Regions from separate parts of the Homo sapiens genome. Here all the other regions are linked to region 5. Evidence: promoter capture Hi-C in 16 types of primary human blood cells and fetal thymus (Javierre and others, 2016). All regions are on one chromosome and are shown on one strand. Each heading gives the region's core, a stretch centred on a gene start or on the middle of the fragment in contact. The rest is flanking DNA. Distances are from core to core; before and after follow the strand shown. Region 1 overlaps SEC23A (SEC23 homolog A, COPII component). Region 2 has its middle 14 kb from the start of PNN-AS1. Region 3 overlaps SEC23A (SEC23 homolog A, COPII component). Region 4 overlaps GEMIN2 (gem nuclear organelle associated protein 2). Region 5 holds the start of KLHL28 (kelch like family member 28). Region 6 has its middle 130 kb from the start of SSTR1.

Evidence for each region. The method cuts DNA at HindIII sites, captures the fragments that hold promoters and counts their contacts. A CHiCAGO score of 5 or more calls a contact.
Region 1: a fragment that was not itself captured here is called in contact with the fragment with the promoter of KLHL28 in region 5 in 7 of 17 cell types (non-activated CD4 T cells, M0 macrophages, total CD8 T cells and 4 more); the score reaches 9.9 in non-activated CD4 T cells.
Region 2: a contact is called between a fragment that was not itself captured here and the fragment with the promoter of KLHL28 in region 5, in 5 of 17 cell types (total CD8 T cells, total CD4 T cells, non-activated CD4 T cells and 2 more). The highest score is 18.1, in total CD8 T cells.
Region 3: a fragment that was not itself captured here is called in contact with the fragment with the promoter of KLHL28 in region 5 in 2 of 17 cell types (non-activated CD4 T cells and total B cells); the score reaches 7.0 in non-activated CD4 T cells.
Region 4: a fragment that was not itself captured here is called in contact with the fragment with the promoter of KLHL28 in region 5 in 4 of 17 cell types (total CD8 T cells, total CD4 T cells, M0 macrophages and 1 more); the score reaches 7.1 in total CD8 T cells.
Region 6: a contact is called between a fragment that was not itself captured here and the fragment with the promoter of KLHL28 in region 5, in 1 of 17 cell types (total CD4 T cells). The highest score is 6.7, in total CD4 T cells.

What each region holds. Positions count from the first base shown.
Region 1 is chr14:39,037,752-39,041,584 of GRCh38, forward strand. It overlaps SEC23A (SEC23 homolog A, COPII component), which reads right to left. Exons shown (of 20, transcript NM_006364.4): 18 at 2,981-3,136; 19 at 1,280-1,345. Among named protein-coding and RNA genes, the nearest start is that of SEC23A-AS1, 63 kb to the right of the region's middle. The HindIII fragment of the contact is 1,685 bases long and covers 1,742-3,426 here.
Region 2 is chr14:39,188,160-39,191,906 of GRCh38, forward strand. No RefSeq gene overlaps it. Among named protein-coding and RNA genes, the nearest start is that of PNN-AS1, 14 kb to the left of the region's middle. The HindIII fragment of the contact is 703 bases long and covers 1,898-2,600 here.
Region 3 is chr14:39,059,378-39,062,879 of GRCh38, forward strand. SEC23A (SEC23 homolog A, COPII component) reads right to left here. Exons shown (of 20, transcript NM_006364.4): 13 at 2,388-2,494. Among named protein-coding and RNA genes, the nearest start is that of SEC23A-AS1, 42 kb to the right of the region's middle. The HindIII fragment of the contact is 9,282 bases long and covers 1-3,502 here.
Region 4 is chr14:39,127,567-39,131,053 of GRCh38, forward strand. It overlaps GEMIN2 (gem nuclear organelle associated protein 2), which reads left to right. Exons shown (of 10, transcript NM_003616.3): 7 at 714-782. Among named protein-coding and RNA genes, the nearest start is that of GEMIN2, 15 kb to the left of the region's middle. The HindIII fragment of the contact is 9,579 bases long and covers 1-3,487 here.
Region 5 is chr14:44,960,394-44,963,855 of GRCh38, forward strand. It overlaps KLHL28 (kelch like family member 28), which reads right to left and starts at 1,554. Exons shown (of 5, transcript NM_017658.5): 1 at 1,453-1,554. TOGARAM1 (TOG array regulator of axonemal microtubules 1) reads left to right here and starts at 1,797. Exons shown (of 20, transcript NM_001308120.2): 1 at 1,797-3,462. The coding sequence starts at 2,029. RefSeq lists enhancers at 621-710, 1,225-1,739, 1,281-2,090, 1,740-2,254. The HindIII fragment of the contact is 5,188 bases long and covers 1-2,429 here.
Region 6 is chr14:38,078,093-38,081,652 of GRCh38, forward strand. No RefSeq gene overlaps it. Among named protein-coding and RNA genes, the nearest start is that of SSTR1, 130 kb to the right of the region's middle. The HindIII fragment of the contact is 6,051 bases long and covers 1-3,560 here.

The DNA.
Region 1 (3,833 bases), core at 1,334-3,833, 5.9 Mb before region 5:
CTTTAATCCAGGATTCAATCAGAATTCAGATTTTGTGCATAGTTGCCATGCCCTGGAATAATTACTTTCCTGCAACTTCTAATCAAGTCCTATTGAGTCTACTTTTAAAATATCTCCCAAATCTATTCCTTTCACCATCTTGCCTTTACTCCCTCTCACTTGGATTATTTTCGTAAATATACTTTCAACCTACAGACTGCTTCCATTTAATCTTAAGATTCAACTATACTAAGACTCAAATCTGCCCTCTGTCCACCTTCAATGACTCTCCATTACTTACCAAATAAATACTCAACTTCTCACTCCTCAACCTGACATTCAAGATCCTCCACAATTTACTTGTACAACACATTTCCGTTTTATGTTCTTCTAGTCAGCTCTGCATGTAGTCTTTTATCTTAGCCCATACTATTCTCTACCTAGATTTCCCTTCCTCATGCAATTTCCAATTACTGAAATAACCATTCTTTAAATGAAATGTTTCTTTTTTCTGAGCTCTTTTCTGATTACACACCCTCTTCCTGCTACCACTATGTGACCTCTTGCCATCTTCCTCTTCTAACCTTTGTAATACTTCATAGCTTTCTAAGGACAAATATCCCATTCTGCCTTGTAATTTACTTAGGTATGTATTTTATCTCTAATATTAGACTACAAGCTCTCCAAAGGCATGGGTAATAACTGCACCCTAAAGAGCCAATACAAAGTCCTAAACATACTGGACACTCAATAAATGTTGATATGTTATACCAAGAGGTTAACACTTTTTTTTTTTAAGAGATGGAGTCTTGCTATGTTGCCCAGGCTGGTCTCAAACTCCTGGCCTCAAGTGATCCTCCTGCCTCAGCCTCTTGAGCAGCTGGGATTACAGGCATGAGCCACCACACCCAGCAGGACTTTTACCAAATTAAACTATATCAATAATGATTTGCAGGGTTCCTGCCCCTCCTTCTCAACTATGATCCCTGGCCTCTCTTGGCTTATCGTGGCCTTTTGTGGTTCACAACCTAGCATTAAACTGGAGTCACCACTTCCTGTCTTACACACTTCATTGCTTTTTGTCTCAAGGGTATAGTGCTAAACTTGGAGTCTATTTGATAGGATCACTTTTGTCCTATGGTGTCGCCAAATATTAATTCTGTTTTCTACTCTCATTTTTACATTACTTTTCCAACAGAAACCATTACTAAATACACAGGAAAAAAATGTAGCTTTCACTAAAATAATAAACAATAAATACACAAAGAAATAATTTCCAAGACCTGCTATTTAAACTTACCTGCCCCCAGGCATACATATTATTATGAGTCTGTGAAGGGTTGACTTTTGAAAGGAGGAAACGGGCCTTAAAAGCAAAGAAGAAATAACATTATCCATCAAAAATGGTTTCAGTCAATATCAGCTGAATAATTATATCATGCAAAATCAATTTTATTTAGTATGTGTTGGTAAAATTAATTTTATTAACTTAATTTTTAAAAGATTAAACTTTGAAATGTATAGGTCACTAAGTGTTACAAATAAATAATAAATGCACCTCTTCTCTCCAAATCATACATCCAAAATAACAAATACATTGTTGAGTCCAAAACTCAGCATATAAAAATTATGTGTGCAACAATTATGACAAGGTTGGTGTGAAATTACTAAACACTTGGTCAGAAGTTCAAAATCCCAAATAATGATAAAAACAAAAGCCATGAAAATCTGTATGTTCTTTTGCTTAAAATAATGACCCTTAAGCTTTCTTAAACCACAGGTGATTCTATGAGACAAGTGATCCAACATTTTATCCTTCTACCCACTATGGCTTATCATCATGAAAATAATAACCAGAATAAAAGAGGAAAATGGTAATACACACAGTGAGACATCAATGAAAGAACCAGTAAGATTTTTAACTCATAATGGAAGCACATAGACAGTAACATCTTTTGAAATTTAGTATCATACAAAATCTTTTTCTACTCTCTAAGGAATCAGTTTAACCTAACAGTGAAGAGCACTGGCCCTGGAGTACCAGGACTCAAATCCCACTCCTGTATTTACTGTGTTCCCTTGGCCATAAGTAACCTAGATCTCAGTTTTATTATCTGTTAAATGAAAATAACACTAGAATTCTTATGAGGATCAAATGAGATAAGGCATGCAGAAGTACTTTGCAAATTCTCAATATGAAATAACTCTCATATAAATACAGTAAAACTAATAGTAATTATCATTTCTGAATAACAGTTACTGATATTTGCTACCTATTTTATAATACCGTACTAGGCACTAGGGAATACAAAGCATAGTCCCTGCCTTCAAAGAGCATGTAAAACAAATTAATAACAACTTATAATTAATTTATTATAACTCTTATAAGAATTACAAAAGAGAAGTAAGAAGTATTTTATGAGAGTATGTTAAGGAACCTAACTTAGCCTTCTGAAGGTCTCAAAGCAACTGTGTATGTATGTATATGTATCTAACGTATATGTATCCTCAAAATCCTAAAAGCCACAAAACCTTTTCATAATACTACAGTGTTTTCCTATTACATAAAATTTTATTTTCTAGAAAATTGGAATGATAGAATGAAGACAATGAAAAAATGTAAGTTACCACAAATGTCATATTCATAGACTTTAACAGTAAATAAACGGCTTTAAGAAAAGTATATTACTTTCCAAGCTGTTCACATTTTCTTGTTCAACCAAAGCTAGTATACCACCACAATGCCATCCTGGCCCTGTTCAGGAAGCTAGGCTAGAGACAGAAGATGATGGAAAGTGCCAGGTTTAGGCAACTAGTCAATAATCTTACTGTTTTGCTCTCAAAAGCTAATGCAAAAAGTAAGCACTGATACCTTCCCCACCTATCTCCTTACCTTTCTGTCTGCTTTATGAAGCAATCTATTAAAATCAGAAGGCAAGCAGGTACACCTCACTGCAAACCTAACAACAAACAAACACACAAACAAATTAACACTACTTACCTGGCTGCCTCCATGTTCAGTGTCAATGTATCTTGGCATTGGAAATCTGGAGTGAAGAATTTCCTGTGCATCATCCACTGGGGCTTGCAGAAGGTGGCGGAAATTTTCATACTCAGGCATATCCTGGTATCCTGACTTCCGCCACTGTGCTATGGTCTAATTTTAAAACAATTAAAGAAATTACTTTAAATTTCTTGCCCATCCAAAAATCTTGAGATTTTTCCAAAGAAAATAATCTTTAGAAACTAAAAAAATTATAGACCATTATTCCATTTACCTCAATTTTTTAAAAGTTACAATTTCAGTAGAGAAAATATTCTTAATAAATATAAAATTAGAATATTTCTTCTCCTTTAAAAGTAAAATGAAAGAATACTTACATAAGTCAGAAAATTTTTAAAACACTATGCTTATCAAATGAATGTTAGCTAAAAGCTATCTACCTAAGCTTATGATACGTGAAAGCAATTGAATCAATCCATAGGTAAGTAGCTCTAAACACCATGTAATTAAATCATCTAAAAACTTATGCCTGGTTTATTTTCTAAGTTAGCTGAATCAGTCAACACATTCTTTTATAGCTTTATACCTCTGTATAAAACAATCATGTGCATTTCTGATTTCTCCTTTAACAAGCTACTTGAAAAAGTAAAAATCACCATAAAACAAAGAAAAAGCAAAAAAAAAAAAAAAAAAAAAAAAAGCCCTGTCAGTATTACAGGTTTTTTTTTTTTTTTTAACAAAGGCAAGAAGTTAAAACAGGTATTATTCTTAACAAGTAAAGGGCATTAGAAACTGGTATCAATTAAAAATAATTTACAATAATAATAATTAAATCTTTTAAAACTCCTGG
Region 2 (3,747 bases), core at 999-3,498, 5.8 Mb before region 5:
GAGGATTTGCTACAACAGGAGAAACACAACAAGCCTATGGTCTTGAACCCAACTTGGATAAATATCGACAACCAAAATAAGTGACTGAGACCTAAGTCTTAGTCATCGAGGTTTATTGAGCTAGCTTGTGGGCATGCCCGGTGGAAAAAAAAACTTGTAAAAACTTGTTTCACGGATGTATCTGTGCCTATTTTTTTCCAAAGAGGTTCTCGGGAGGTTTAGTATTTATACATTTTCCTTTAAAAGTCTGAGGAGGGTGAGGGTGGCAGTGAGATGAATGATTACAGACTTATGAGACTTTAGTTAGTGCCCAGCAAATCTACATTTTACATAAGGTAAGGTGAACATTTGAAGAAATAGGAATAGAGGAAGCAGAGAGGTGAAGGACTGATTAATCTTGTCTTTGTTCTCTCCCTGGGGAGATAAGCTAGTAATCGACATTATCAATGTGGAGTCTTGAAAGGGCTGCTTTCTGGTTAGCCCTTGGGGAGGAAAGCCTAATGGCATTTGGTGAGGGAGTAGGTATAATGAGGCATGTTGGACCTCTCATCCCGTCATAGCTATGAACTGTTTCCCAGGTTTCTTTGGGGTCCCCTTGGCTAAGAGGGGGTCCATTCAGTTGGGGACTTAGAATTTTATTTTTATTTCTCAATATAAAACCACAACTGGCCAAGTGTGGTGAATCACATGCCTGTAATCCTAGCACTTTGAGGGGCTGAGGTGGGCAGATCACTTGAGCCCCAGGGGTTCAAGACCAGCCTGGGCAACATGGCGAAACCTGCCTCTACGAAGAATACAAAAATTAGCTGGGCATGGTGGCGGGCACCTGTAGTCCTAGCTACTCCGGAGGTGGAGGTGGGAGGATCACCTGAGCCTGGGAGGTTGAGGCTGTGGTGAGCTGTGATTGTGCCACTGCACTCCAGCCTGGGTGACAGAATGAGACCGGATCTCAAAAAAATAAGTAATTTTTAAAAAAACCACATGGGCACATCATAATAAAACTTTTGAAAACCAAATCCCAAATGTATGGGAATTTCTAATTATCTTTTTATTATCTATTTCTGGCTTAATTCCACTTTCATTAAAGAGCATTCTCTGTATAGTTTCAATCACTTAAAATTTGTTGAGAGTTGCTATTGGGCCCTGCATATGATTAAGTTTAGAAACTATAGGCATGTGGCCCTGAAAAAAAAGTTGATTCTTTAGCTATCATATGCAGTTTAGCTTGTGCCAATTAGGTCAATTTTATTACTTGTATTATTTAAATCTTTTATATCCTTACCAAGTCTTTGTGGGCTTGTTTTATCACATACCAAGGGAAGTATGTTAAAATCTTCCACTGTGATTTGTGGATTTATCTTTCTCCTTTCTTTTTTTTTTTTTGAGATGGAGCCTAGTTCTGTTCTGTCACCCAGGCTGGAGAGCAGTGGCACCATCTTGGCTCACTGCAACCTCCGCCTCCTGGGCTCAAGCTATTCTCCTGCCTAAGCCTCCCGAGTAGCTGGGATTACAGGCACCTGCCACCATGCCCAGCTAATTTTTATATTTTTAGTAGAGACGGGTTTCACTGTGTTGGCCAGACTGGCCTCGAACTCCTGACCTCGTGATCCACCCGCCTTGGCCTCCCAAAGTGCTGGGATTACAAATGTGAGCCACCACACCCGGCCTCTCCTTTCTATTTTTATTTTACATATTTTGAGGCTATTATAGTAGGTGCATATACATTTAAAATTGCTTTATCTTCCTTATGAATTAATCCTTTTGGAATTTTCAGATATCTGTATTCCAAACAAGGCTTTTGTCTTAAAGTCTACTTTGCCTGCCATTAGTATAGCTACTTAACCTTTCTTTGGGATAATGTTGGTATGGTTTATCTTTTCCTATCCTTTTACTTTCAAGCTTTCTGTAATCCTTTTATTAACAATGTGTCTTATAAGTAGGTTTAAAAAAAAATTAGGACAGCCTTTGTCTTGGCAGTCTGCTTAAGTTTATTGGCACGTTTAGGTTTAAATCTAGCATTTTACTAATTGCTTTTTTTTTTTTTTTTGAGACGGGAGTCTCATTGTCACCCAGGTTGGAGTGCAGTGGTACAATCTCAGCTCACTGCAGTCTCCACCTCCCGGGCTCAAGTGATTCTTCTGCCTCAGCCTCCTAAGTAGCTGGGACCACAGGCCTGCACCATCACACCTAGCTAATTTTTTGTATTTTTGGTAGAGACAGGGTTTCGCCATGTTGGCCAGGCTGGTCTCAAACTCCTGAGCTCAAGCGACCCAGTTAAATAGATCCATCCGCTTCTTCCTCCCAAAGGGTTGAGATTAGAGGCGTGAGCTACCGAGCCCTGGCTAATTGCCCTCAACCCCGCCTTTTTTTTTGTTTTGCCTATTTTGTGTTTTTCTTTTCTTCCTTTGAACTGGATGAATAATTATTAATCTGTTATCTCCCTCTGTTAAATTGATACTTCTGCATTCTTTTACAGTTGTTTCAGTGGTTTTCAGTTTTCCTAGAATTTACAACACACATCCATACATGATGCAAGACCCTTAGAACATTTTAGTCCATTTATGGTACTTTTTCTATGTAGTTTGTCTACTTATATTTTAAGCTTCACAATACATTATTATTGATTTATACAACATTCAGTATTTATTTATTGAATACCGCTTTTTAACATTGCTTTTCATACCTTCTTACATCTGTGGATCTTGCTCTGTTGCCCAGGCTGGAATGTAGTGGTGCAATCTCGGCTTGCTGCAGCCTCGACCTCCTGGGCTTGAGGCTCCCAAAGTGTTGGGATTACAGGCGTGAACCATCACACCCGGCCACTTATGATTTATTTATTGTAAGAACATTCAAATCCTTTCTTCTAGCTATTTGAAATATACTATGCAGCCTGGGCAACTGGGAAAAACCCCAGCTCTACAAAACACACACAAATTAGACAGGCATGGTGGCATGCACCTGTCGTCCCAACTACTCAGGAGGCTGGGGTGAGAGGATCGCTTGAGCCCAGGAAGCAGAGGTGCAGTGAGCCGAGATTGTGCCATTGCACTCCAGTCTGGGTGACAGAGTGATACCCTGTCTCAAAAAGCAAAAAACAAAACAATATGTTATTTTTAGCTATAGTCACCCTACTGTGCAATAGAGTGTCAGAACTTAGTCCTGTTTAACTGTAACATTGTACGCATTGACCAACGTTCTTCCATTTACCCCCTCCTCCTATTCTCCCCAGTCTCTGGTAACTACTATTCTATTCTCAACTTCTATGAGATCAGTTTTGTTTAGATTCAACATATGAGTGAATGAAGTCATGTGTTTTTTGTCTTTCTATTCTTGGCTTATTTCATTTAATGTAATGTTCTCCAGGCTCATCAATGTTGTTGCAGTTGACAGGATTTTATTCTCTTTTTATGCCTGAATAGTATTCCATTGCTTATACATGCCACATTTTCTTAGCCTGAAGAACATCTTTTAGAATTTCCATTAGTGTGGATCTTCTGGTGATATTATCTCAGTTTTTGTTTGTCATAAAATTACTTCACCTACCTTTCTGAAGGATATATTTGTTCAGTTTGGAGTTCTATTGGTGAGTATTTTCTTTCTGCAATTTGAATTATTGTTTTAATTATCTGTTTTCTGCATTCCATTGTTTGTGTTGAGAAGCCACATGACAGTCTCCTTTGAAGGTAATTCAAACCTTTTCCCTGAAGGGAGATGAAGGCAGGGAGTAGATGAAATACTCCAGTCCAG
Region 3 (3,502 bases), core at 158-2,657, 5.9 Mb before region 5:
AAGACACAATGCTATAAATGGCACCATAACACACATATGTCTCTACAAATAGCCTCATAAATTCTGTGCAAACTGAAAATATATAAGCCCATAATATTTCTCATAAGACAGCACCCTGTCTCTTGAAAGAGTCACCTAACCTTTTAAAATTTTCATTTTAAAAATATTTCAAACATAAAGACAGTAAGAGTGGAATAAACTCCTATATAACCATCACCTAGATTCATCAGTTGTTAGCATTTTAACACATCTGCATTATCATTCTCTCTCTCCATTTATATACACATTTTTTGCTGAACTTTTCTAGATTAAGTTGGAGATATTATGACCTTCTGCCTGAAATACTTCAGTGTATATCTCCTAAGAACAAAAAATTTTCTTATATAGCTCCAATTATTAAACTCATGAAATCTAACACTGATATAATGCCATTATCATATAGAAAGAGACTATATTCATATTTCCCCAATTGTCTAATAATGGCTTCTAAAGCAAAATTTTTCCCTGACATTTGCATTTTGTCCATGATCACACATTGGCATTAGTGGTAATGTTTCTTTAGTATCCTTTAATCTGGATCAGTTGCTCAGACTTTCTTTGTCTTCCAAGACATTTTTGAATAGTACAAACCAGTGACTTTGTAAGTTGTAAAAAGTCCTTCATTTGGTATGTCGTTGTTTCCTTAAGCAAATGTTCTGAATGTCAAATTTAATGTGTGCACACACATGTGTGTGTGTGTGCACACACGTTGAGAGCCATAAATAAACTGAGAAGTTTGCCAAGCATCAGTACTTCCAAGTTCCTTATCTGAAATCTGAATAAATCTAAGGGAAGGTTCAGCTGACATTTTTTCTTCAAATGAATAATGTATCCCCTTGACATTGTTCCAGGATGTTAAGTCAAAGCAAGGTAACAGAACAGAACACTAAATCTATGTACAACCCTGTGCTAAGTAATAGATCACCCAATACAGCTAATACTCAGTTCAAATGTTGTGTTCATGTCCATCACTCAACAAAAGTCTTAAGATTTTCAGGAATGAAGCTAGAGTTTAAGTACACTTAATGAAAATGAGAGCTACAAATGCCTTCCTTGTCCATTGTCGAGACCATGACTAAACTGGGTAAGTTTACTGATCAACACTTTTCCTATCCAGACAACCAAGTTCAAGACAAACAGAAATAAAGACCAAAGCCTGTTCATTTCTAGATTCACCTCATCTAAAAAACCTCTTCCTAACTAAACTCATTCCACAATTATTTTCCTTTTGTTTTATACTTCACAAATACACAGAGATACCAAAGTAGCAGAGAAATAATTTATTCGTAATTCTTAATAAAAAGAAAGGTACTAAATTCAGTTAAATTTGTTGTCTCTGCAAATGCTGGGCAAAGAGCCCATGAACAAATACATGCCTTATTTGGAAAATCTATCACAAAGATAGGAATAAGAAAAGGTATCTGTTGGGCCTTATTATTCCCTTCTGGGGACCCTGCCTATATCAATAAATTAGAACATGACTATGTTACACAAAATACTACCCTATAATTGAATCTGTTAGATAGAGACTTTACCTTTTGTGGTCTCAACAAGTGCTAGTCAAAGTGTGGTATGTGAACCAGTGCCATGAAGTCAAAAGAGGAACTGAGAATAAATATTTAGAAACTGAGCAACTTCACAAAATAATCTTATATCTTATTAATCTAATAATATAAAACAGGGAGTTTGTTTTAAATCACTTTTTAAAATTTCATTTTTCTAGTAATTCATTTTTATTGTATTTAATAAAAGCATCTGTACCCGAAGGATTAGGAAAAAAAACACAACTGGCCCTTTACCACAGACAATGTGAGGATGACTCTATACCACACTGTCATACAGCAGGAGGCTAAGTACGTTCACGGCTTCCGCATTCATACTCTCCTAAAACAGAACCTACTCCACAAAGCAGAAGCTGAGTAATGGCATAATAAATGAATTAAATGACTAATAAAACTTGAAAAAAAAATAGCTAAGAATTTTTATCACTAATTGAAAAGTAATGTGATTAATTACTGTGCTATATCATTTATATATATAATGGATTATATATATTATTATTGACTATTATAGGTAAATATCTGATTTTTCTCCTCTCACAGGAATGAGGTAAATAAAATAATATTTTGAAGGGTGTGTCTTAGAAGTACTTTTTAAAATTGCTCTTACGGTTCTTAGTAATGCATATTGTAGCAAATAAGCTGGGTTAGAAAGAAATAAATAAAATACTATTAGTCACAAATATTCACTTGCTAGTCATGGATGTCACCCAAAATAGGAATCCAGTTTGGAAACACAACCCAGATACCTGTGATATGAAAATCAAATCTCTAACAAATACAACTTACTTCCTAGCAATGGTGGTCACTCGGATGCGTCTCTGCCCACTTGAATGCTGATACTGAGTCACAAACTGGATTGCACCACGCCCTCCTTGAGGAATTGGAGCATTATGCTGTATAAATATAATGGAGTAAAACCTAAGCAAAATTTACTATGCTGTTGTCATATAATCACAGGCTACATGTCCTAGCACTAAAAATAATTCATTCTAAAATTGATTAGAAGGATACTTATTTCCAGTGCATTCAAAACAGTTATAATTTGTTACACAGAAGAGGAGAAATTAATTTGGAGAGGAGGAAAATAATCAAGAATGATAGAAGTCAGTCCTGCTAGGAAATCAATTTTCAAGTAATATATAAGCCAGAGGGACATGAAAGAACAAAGAAAAGGGAGAGCACAAAGAAATTAAAAGACAATTCCTAAGTGAAGCCATTTAAGCCAAACTGCACAGATTGAATATCCCTTATCCAAAATGCTTGGGACCCGAAATGTTTTGGATTTTGTATTTTTTTAAACTCAGGAATATTTGCCTTATACCAATTGAAGATCCCCAAATCCAAAAATCCAAAATCCAAAATGCTCTCCAATGAGCATTTTCTTTGAGTGTCATGTCAGCATTCAGAAAGTTCCAGATTTTGAAACATTTCAGATTTCAGATCTGAGATGTTCAACTTGTAACTAGATAAACAGAAATTGAGCTAAGTCCTCCTCCCCTAGGTATAGAAGATGAAAGCAGAACTTTTAGGAACATAATCATATGATGAACAACCAACCAATGAAAGATTAATAATGAGAAGAAACTAATAGCAATATATAATAATTATCATCAGAAAGAAATACAAGTAATCAATAGGAAAACTTTATTCCTGCATTCTGACAACAGACATTCTTGCTTTGTTTTTGTGTGTTGTTTTGTTTTTGTCAATAAGAGTCAATATATTTCTTATAAATTTTAATGTTTAAAAAAAAACTATTGCACCTGCCTTAGGAAAGCTGACTGTTAATATTTTGTGGTTCATTTTATGGCTAAAAACTATTAATATATAAGTCAGTAATTTGTGTTATTCTTCAATGTGATTAATTATCTCCTGTGGCAGAAAAAAAAATCTTCCCAAAT
Region 4 (3,487 bases), core at 918-3,417, 5.8 Mb before region 5:
TGACATCAAGTGATCCACCTGCCTCGGCCTCCCAAAGTGCTGAGATTACTGGCAAGAGCCACTGAGCCTGGCCACAAATACATTTTCTTTTAACCTTGTGAAGTCTTTCAAGTAGTTACAAACTAAATTATTAATAGTTACAAACTAAATCCTAGGATTTAAACCAAGGTGTTAGTTGATATTTGAAAGTGTGAAAATATTTGTTTTAAAAGCCTCACTGGGGCTAGGCGCGGTGCCTCACACCTGTGATCGCAGCACTTTGGGAGGCCGAGGAGGGCGGATCACCTGAGGTCGAGAGTTCGACCAGCCTGACCAACATGCAGAAACCCTGTCTCTACTAAAAATACAAAAATTAGCCGGACGTGGTGGTGCACGCATGTAATCTCAGCTACTCAGGGGGCTGAGGCAGGAGAATTGCTTGAACCCGGGAGGCGGAGGTTGCAGTGAGCCAAGATCGCACCAGTGCGCTCCAGCCTGGGCAACAGAGTGAGACTCTATCTCAAAAAAAAAAAAAAAAAAAAAAAAAAGCCTCATTGGATAAGCCGCCTAATCAAACTAATTAGAGTCAAACAAATTAGCTTTCTTTGAAAGTTTAAAGAATGAGGCCATTTTTAACATCAGAGTTGCTTTCTAAATAAACTTAATGAAACTCATGTTGAATTCATGTTTTATTATTAATACAACTCTTCTCCACCCCCTCTTTTTTTTTTTAGGCAACAGTAACTAGTGTCTTGGAATATCTGAGTAATTGGTTTGGAGAAAGAGACTTTACTCCAGAATTGGTAGTATTGCATGTTTTTCTTTTCATAATGTAGGCAAAAATTAGACGTTTTGGGTCAACTGTGGGCCACATATACAATGGTGCTCCTATAGGATTATAATACTGTATTTTTACTGCACATTTTCTTTTTTTCTTTTCTTTTTTTTTTTTTTTTTTTTTTTGAGACAAGGTCTCGCTCTGTTACCCAGGCTGGGGTGCAGTATTACAATCATAGCTCACTGCAACCTTGATCTCCCCAGCTCAAGCAATCCTCCTGCCTCAATCTCCTGAGTAGCTGGGACTACAGGCGCATGCAGCCACGCCCAGTTTTTTTTGTTTTTTGTTTTTTGTTTTTTTTATTAGAGACAAGGTCTCACTGTGTTGTCCAGGCTGGTCTTGAACTGAGTCCAAATGATCCTGCCTCCTCACCCTCCCAAAATGCTGGGAATTACAGGCATGAGCCACCATGTGTGCGGCCTTTTGTGTTTTTTAAATAGAGACGAGGTCTCACCATGTTCCCCAGGCTGATCTCAGACTCCTAGGCTCAAGTGTTCTTCCCACCTTGGCCTCCCAAACTGTTTGGATTACAAGCATGAGCCACTGAGCCCGGCTCCTTTCCAGTATTTAAATATGTTTAGATCTGGCCAGGCACAGTGGCTCATGCCTGTAATCCCAACTACTAGGGAGGGCTGAGGCAGGAGGATCACCTAAGGCCAGGGAGGTTGAGGCTGCAGTGAGCCATGATTGTGCCACTGCACTGCACTCTAGCCTGAGTGACAGAGTGAGACCCTATCTTAAGAAATAAATATATGGTTTTTTTGGATGCACAAATGTTTACCATTATGTTACAGTTGCCTACAGTATTCAGTATAGTAATGTGCTATATAGGTTTGTAGCCTAGGAGCAATTGGCTATGCAATATAGTCTAGGTATAGTAGACTATACCATCTAGGTTTGTGTAAGTATACTCTATGATGTTCATCCAGGGTCAAAAATCACCTAACAATGCATTTCTCAGAATATATCTCCCTTCATTAAGTGATGCATGACTGTACTTGATGTGATGCTACGGTATTTATTTATTTTTTATTTATTTGTTTGTTTTGACATGGAATCTCCCTCTGTTGCCCAGGCTGGAGTGCAGTAGCGCGATCTCGGCTCACTGCAGCCTCCACCTCCTGGTTTCAAGTGATTCTCCTGCCTCAGCCTCCCAAGTAGCTGGGATTACAGGCACCTGCCACCACACCCAGCTAATTTTTGTATTTTTGTAGAGACAGGCTTTCTCCATGTTGGCCAGACTGGTCTTGAACTCATGACCTCAGGTGATCTGCCCGCCTCCACCTCTCAAAGTGTTGGAATTACAGGCGTGAGCCACTGCACCCAGCCAGTATTTATATTTATATTTATATTTGTATATGTGTGTGTGTGTGTATATACATATGTATAATCTGAACTATACTTGTTTGTAGTCAAATAAGAAACACTAGAATGTAAATCAACATACTACTTCCTTCATTGAGAAAGTCTTGGAGAAAAAAAGTCAATGAAAGAGTTGATGTATATCCTGGTACAAGGTACAAACTCCTTATCTCATTGCAGACAAGTTTGTTTTTTTTTTTTTTTTTTTTTTTTGAGATGGAGTCTCACTCTGTCACCCAGGCTGCAGTGCAGTGGTGCCATCTCGGCTCACTGCAACCTCTGCCTCCCAAGTTCAAGCAATCCTCCTGCCTCAGCCTCCTGAGTAGCTGGGACAAGTGTAGAGAATATTTAATTTAAATTAAATATTTAATTTAAATGCTAGCTTTACATAGTAAATGTATCCCTTAAAATTTGAGTCAAGTTGAAACATATAATTTTTTTTTATAGAAAAAGAATTCCACAATTTGTAAAAGAAACCTGGATTTGAATCTTTTTCTGTAAGAAAAAGTCTTAACTATTGATTTGAGTTTGCCTGAGGAACCCATTTAGTGTGTTGTATAAATTGCTATTTAAATTTTGTCCTAATATTTTTTAGGTTTCCCCGAAGTGATATGTTGCTTAGAATAAACAAAGTTGTATATACTACTGGTGGAAATACAAATTTGGTATAACCTTTCCAGGATACAATCTGGTGATCATATCTGAAAAACCTTGATGAATATACATACCCTTTGTCACCATTTTACTTGCAATACTTAATAAACTTTCCCCATGTTGTTAAATGAGATTAAACAAGGGAATGTTATTAAATACTCTAAACAAGACACTTAACATTCCCTTGTTAATCCCATTTAACTACAAGGGATGGCTGAGTGGGGTGGCTCACTCCTGTAATCCCAGCACTTAGGGAGGCCGAGGTGGGCGGATCACTTGAGGTCAGGAGTTCGACACCAGCCTGGCCAACATGGTGAAACCCCCATCTCTACTAAAAATACAAAAATTAGCTGAGCATGGTGGCGGGCGCCTGTTGTCCCAGCTACTCAGGAGGCTGAGGCAGGAGGATTGCTTGAACCTGGGAGGCAGAGGTTGCAGTGAGCCGAGATGGCACCACTGCACTCCAGCCTGGATGACAGAACGAGACTCCATCTCGAAAAAAAAAAGAAAAAGGACAAAAACAACATGGTAAACATTTTATTATGTATTATAAATAAAAAAGATGGCTACAAGATGATATTACAACTGATGAAATTGTATTGAAAAAAGGTTGTACAGCCGGGCATGGTGGCTCACGCCTGTAATCTCACCACT
Region 5 (3,462 bases), core at 304-2,803:
CATTGTCTAGGTTAGTTTGAACTGGGTTCCTCAAGTCTGGGCAATACATGACTAGAAGTCTACACATTTGAGCTTCTTAGGTTGGAACTGTGAGAACCAGACACTTTCTCATTGACAACTGCTACAATCATTTCTTGTTTTTCACCTCCCTGTCTTTAACCTGTCCCTAAAATGAAACATGCTAGCTAAACCTAATTTAGGCAGATTCATTTAAACACGAAAATGGCTCATTAAAACCAAAGTAACAGCCTAGAATTTAAACCAAAACATAGGATGTATATTTACACAGCCTCATTTACATTATAGTCTATTCCCCACCCCCACCCCCCCAAAAACAAAACAAAACAAAACTGATATTCAAATCGTACTTTAAGGCAAAAATCCAGAAATTATTTTTGCACTTGCATCAGCTGGGAGCATTATTTATAAAGCTGTTTGGCATATGTGACTCATTTATTCCAAGACTTTAAAAAGTATTTAAGAGAAATCCCACCTGGTACAGAGCAGGGTAGGAATACTTGCATTTGAAGTGCATAAATTTGGGTCTTCAAATGATAACTTAGACTTTTCGCACGAGTCATTCAAAAGTAATAGTATTATTCCTTCAAAAAAAAAAAATATCTCTTCCACACTCCAAAGCATTCAGGCTCACACTAGACACTCCAGCTCTTCCACTGTGTCCGTTTAAGTATCACTTATGAGGAGAAAATGCACACAAAATTCTCAGTTCGCCTAAAATAAATAAATGTCTACTATCATTCCTAAATCCACAAGGCAGAATTCTCTTAGAACCATGATGCCAAGAACTTCCACCGCAAGTGAAATTGTCTTCGCAATCTCTGTCTCTAGGAGACTGAAAGGCTGCAGAGACGCTTGAGGATCCTGCAGGGAGGCTAGGGCGGCAGACGGAGGGGGCGGAGGTTAGGGGAGAGTCCCACAGAGGAACTGCATTAGAAGGAAAGATTTTGATAACGTCTAAGGGAGAGGCGGTTAGCTACAGGGGGAAAAAAACAGACCTATTTCCATATTATGTACGTTGTAAAGAAAACGCAAAGTGATGAGGGTAAGGAAACGTTGCCAAAAACAAACAAACAAAAACAAAAAAAAATTAACCCTCTGCGGCCGGAGGGTTAAGAGAAGTCGACAAAAGGAGAAGGGGGAGGCGAATAAAGGCCCCAAAGACCAGGAATTGAAAAAAAATACCCGATTTGTGAGCTTGGCCGTGGTCCAGATCTTCTGTCCTGATAAGCAGATGGCAAGAGGAAAGGATCGCAGTTACTCAGGGTGGTAGAGAGTAACGCGTTTACAAGGGTGACGAGCCCTGCACAAGAAGATGTCGCCTCTCTTTCCACCTGCTCCGCTCAGTCCTTTGCCTCTTACTCTAGCACCAGTGGCATTCGGGCAAAACACTGCCAAAGCCTGCACCGCTGGAGGACAGCAAAAGGAAAATACCTGAGTCTCAGTAATCACACGGGCAGCGACAGGAGGAGGAACCGCGGACAACTGGAGCCTGGGCTGGATCCTCACTAGCTCCGGTCAAACCCTAACTCTTACGGGTGGGGCGGGCAACTTCCGCCCAGAGCAAGGAAAGCGTCACATCCGTCAAATGGCTTCACCCCTCCTCCCTTCTCCGCTGTAGCTGCGTTTACAACGTTCTGACTTCCTCTTCCAGGAGACTTTGGCCTAGTCTCAACACCTGACGTGGACTACATAACCCAGCATTCATCACGGCAAGTGGATTTCCGGGTCAAGAGGTCCGCGCTGGGTACATCACCATGGAAGCAATCGGTTTGGTCACGTGGTGCCCTTGGTTACGCCCGGTGGCAGCTGTGGGGTCTAGGGCTCAGACGGGGGCCATTTTGCCAGAGGCTGCCTCCCGGAGTTGGGGGCGGCCTGGCGGCAGGCTGAAGCTGTTCTTTTGCCTCTTCTGCAGCTTGGGGCTTGGAGAGGATCTGGAAGTCTGGGCTCCATCGAGCCCTTTGGAGACGGCAATGGTTTCTTCCAACCACCACCACCTGACAACCCTGCATGGCGGCTGCCCCCTCCGCGCTGCTTCTGCTGCCGCCCTTTCCAGTCCTCTCTACCTATCGGCTCCAGAGCCGCAGTCGTCCTTCCGCCCCAGAGACCGATGATAGTCGAGTTGGGGGCATTATGAGAGGAGAGAAAAACTACTACTTCCGTGGAGCTGCGGGGGACCACGGTTCCTGCCCCACTACAACTTCGCCTCTGGCCTCGGCCCTCTTGATGCCCTCGGAGGCAGTCTCAAGCAGCTGGTCTGAGTCTGGAGGCGGTTTGTCAGGGGGAGATGAAGAGGACACTCGGCTCCTTCAACTCCTCCGCACTGCCCGGGATCCTTCTGAGGCCTTCCAGGCTTTGCAAGCTGCTTTGCCGCGGCGGGGCGGTCGACTTGGCTTCCCCCGACGCAAGGAAGCTTTGTATCGGGCACTGGGCCGAGTGCTTGTGGAAGGAGGTAGTGATGAGAAGCGGCTCTGCTTGCAACTTCTCTCGGACGTTCTCCGGGGTCAGGGGGAGGCAGGCCAGCTTGAAGAGGCCTTTAGCTTAGCACTTTTGCCTCAACTAGTTGTCTCGTTACGGGAAGAGAATCCAGCCCTGCGGAAAGATGCGCTGCAGATCCTTCATATATGTCTGAAACGTAGTCCTGGAGAGGTGCTGAGAACGCTTATACAACAAGGACTGGAAAGTACCGATGCCCGACTTAGAGCTTCCACAGCACTACTGCTTCCCATCTTGCTTACTACTGAGGACTTGTTGCTTGGTCTGGATCTCACCGAGGTGATAATATCCCTAGCCCGAAAGCTTGGTGATCAGGAGACAGAAGAAGAATCTGAGACAGCTTTCTCCGCACTTCAACAAATTGGGGAGCGACTTGGCCAAGACAGGTTTCAATCTTACATTTCTCGTCTGCCCTCTGCCCTGAGGAGACACTACAATCGCCGCCTGGAGTCCCAGTTTGGAAGTCAGGTTCCTTATTATTTGGAACTTGAAGCCTCTGGATTTCCTGAAGATCCCCTTCCCTGTGCAGTGACTCTTTCCAACAGCAATCTTAAATTTGGGATTATTCCTCAGGAGCTGCATTCACGATTATTGGATCAGGAAGACTATAAGAACCGGACCCAGGCCGTCGAAGAACTAAAGCAGGTGCTGGGAAAATTTAACCCTAGTTCTACTCCTCATTCTAGTCTTGTTGGCTTCATTAGTTTGCTATATAATTTGTTAGACGATTCTAACTTCAAAGTGGTGCATGGCACACTTGAAGTCCTGCATTTACTGGTTATTCGCCTTGGAGAGCAGGTACAGCAGTTCTTGGGACCAGTTATAGCAGCTTCTGTCAAAGTGCTGGCGGACAACAAGTTGGTGATCAAACAAGAATACATGAAAATCTTCCTCAAGCTAATGAAGGAAGTAGGACCTCAGCAGGTGCTTTGTTTACTCCTGGAACAT
Region 6 (3,560 bases), core at 904-3,403, 6.9 Mb before region 5:
TTGTCCTGCCATGCCAACACATTTATCTGCTTTCACAGCTTCCTAATGCCCTTTCCTTCCACCTCAGAGGAGGAGCTTGCTCTGCTCCATCTGAGGCTGATCTTATTACATGGGGTCTTCAAGGTTCTTGCTCCATTAGACAACTCTCCCTCACCTGCAGAGTTACCTCTCCCTCTTTTTTGGCTCTTTCCTTTCAACCTATAGATTTTTTTTCGAATTTCTTCAGTTGAAACAGTAGCAACTACAACAATACCCCTCACCACAACACACATACACACACACTCCGAAACACACACACACATACACACACACACACACTTGCTCCAGCTTCTTTTCTTGTAATTCAGATACCTGTTACAGAACTATCCAAGCCCTGTCACCTGGCAGGTAGCCATTGTCTGGGTGAGGTATCCTGTTGTAATCTGGGTGCAATAGTGGTGAGGGCTCCATTACCACATGACCACTTCTGTTTCCTTTGTAAGCAGAAATGTTTAGCACATTTCGCTTGAGCTGTGTGTGTGTGTATAAATACATCAGTTAGTACGTGGTTAAACGGCAAAAAAAAAAAAAAAAAAAGGCTCTGATGATTTTCTCCCAACTAAGTGGTCAGATAACATGTACTGAGTACTTACCACATGCCAGGTGCTGAGCTAAGCCTTTCATGTGGATTACTGCACTTTATCCTAATGATCATGAGATAGTACTATCATTCCCATTCTCCAAATGAAGAAGTGAAACATCAAATATTGAGTACCTTGCTCAAGCACACAGAACAAGCAGGTGGGATTGACCATTGTTTCCCTGGCAAGACTCCAAGAGCATCCACCTTTGGGGGTAGTAGAGCACATACCTAGAATGCCAACCTTTCAATAACAGAAGTGTCCATTCTCTGCAGTGCTCCTGAGTCCACTGAGATACCTCATATATCCTCATGTGTACCTGTTGATTCTCTTACAGTGGTTTTCAATCTAAGTTAAGCATGAGAATTACGCCTGTCCCTAACCCAGACCAGGTGAATGAAAATATCTGGGGGAAATATGGGTACCTGTGTTTTGCAAAATCTTCCCTGAGTGATTCTGATGTGCAGAAAGGCTCACCGTTTCTCTCTTTTCTCCAGTATCCTGCTTCCTGCTCCCTTTATTCTTTTGTTATATTCTCTTCTGAATGGAGAGAAACCTTTCATTTTGAATAAATAAGATAGTTTGATAATCAGCTCTCTGTGGGTGGTGTTACTGGGAATTATTATAACTGTGTTTTGACTCTTTCATTAAAAGAGAAGTACAACTCATACAGATTGAGTAAATACTTGTGGTATTGTGAAATGATTTTTAAAAGCTCCATTACTCTGGACACTAGAAACAACATGAATCAGATGTCTTCAAGCTGTTTCTAGTTATAGGTTAACCTGAGTCTTGGAAACATTCAGTGAATCAGTGTTACCTTTCAGTTCCTCTGCTATAACCACAGTTGTGTATTAGGTATTCTACCGTATAGGCAGTTTTTAAAAAAATAATGAATCTACATGGTGTATTTAACACATAACTTATTGAGTTTAATTTCCTTTGTTATTTGGGAAAAAATATATTTGAAATCACCAAGCTACTGAATGTGTTATATTTAAGGGAAGTAGAAGAGGGTTTTGAATGACTTTTCTGCCATTTTCAATTTAAGTCTTATATTCTGGGAAACTAAATGCCAAAACTAATTTTGAAAAAAAAAAAGATAAAAATATCTATACCACTTTGTAGAGGGAAAGTAATTATTTTCAAAAAGCATCTCACTTTGCTAATGTTGAGAATAATCTGTGGCTTGATCCCAGGACTCTCTTATTTTGTCCTGGTGGGGGTAACTGTCAGCAAAAATTACTATACTGCTCTCCAACTATCAGCCTTCATTCTCAGAAAGTGTATAGTGTTTCTATGATTTATGACACTAATGGGACTCTCCTGGCAGCAGTGTGATCCATTTTGCTGATATAAAGGAAGCAGACAAACTCTAATCTCCTGTTGCACATATCCAAAGACTGAAGAAGAGACTGACATTTTAATTAGCATGGAAACGAGAGATGTGGAAGCCTTCAGCCCCTGAATGAACTAAGTCCTGCAATAGAGTCATATATAAAAGAAAAAGGCTCAATCATGCTTAAAAAAAAGACTGAAACAAACACTGGCCATTATGTGCTACATCACTTTACCAAAGGACATCAGAATATAAATCTGATTGGAATTTTAAAGGGCAACTTCTATTTTATGAGATAAAGTTTGTGACCTGAAAAATAACCATATTTATAGAATTATAGTAGTATTTGGAAATACTTACAAAGGAATAATTTATACATTAAAATTAAACTTTGAAATATGATTATGTCAAAATTAAAGGGCTGGGCGTGGTGGCTCACGCCTGTAATCCCAGCACTTTGGGAGGCCGAGGCAGGTGGATCACCTGAAGTCAGGAGTTCAAGACCAGCCTGGCCAACAGGGTGAAACCCGTCTCTACTAAAAATACAAAAATTAGCTGGGCGTGATGGCGCATGCCTGTAATCCCAGCTACTCGGGAGACTGAGGCAGGAGAATCACTTGAACCCAGGAGATGGAGGTTGCAGTGAGCCAAGATCATGCCACTGCACTCCAGCCTGGGCAACAAAGCAAGACTCTGTCTCAAAAAAAGAAAAAAAAAATCCAAGAACACTAGACTCAAGTCAAATTGAATAACAATCTTAGGTTTTCCATTAACTAGCTGTGTCATCTTGGACCAATTACTTGATCTTTCAGGGCCTCACTTTCTATGCTAGACTAGATAACCTCCAAAGACTTTTACAACTCAAGCATTTTGTGATTTCAATAGATTTCCCATAGTAGTAGCTAATAAGTGAGCTGGAATTGTAATGAACAAGACTACTCTTCCGTAATAAAAAGGAACACCTGACTGCAAGTCAAAAAAGCTGCCTTCTACTCCTTGCATCACCAATTAAAAACCATGTGATCTGAGCACGTTCTTAATGCCATTTCCTTACCTGTAAATTAGGAATGGTGGTATCCCTTTGCATGGACAGGAGTTTTGAATGAAATGACGTGTGTATTAGTCTGCTTAGGCTGTCGTAATAAAAATACCACAGACTGCATGGCTTAAACACAGAAAAATTTCTGCTCACAGTTCTGGAGGCTAGATGTCCCAGATCAAGGCCTGACATAGTCAGTCTCTGGTGAGGGCTCTCTTCCTTGCTTGGAGACAGCCATCTTCTCTGTGTCCTCTCACAGTGGAGATAGGAACTCTGATGTCTCTCTTTTTCTTATAAGGGCACCATTGTTATCAGATTAGGGCCCCAGCTTTATGACCTCATTTGACATTTATCACATCCTCACAGACTCTATCTTCAAATATAGAAGCATTGGGGTTAGGGAGTCAACATATGAATTTTGGAGAAATACAATTTGGTCCATGGCATATATGAAAATTCTTTGTAAACACATCATTTTCAATTTTGTGTAAACACACAATTTTTATGTCCCAATAAAAATTAACAGCATAAGGAGATTGGGCACTTATATCCAATGTTGGCG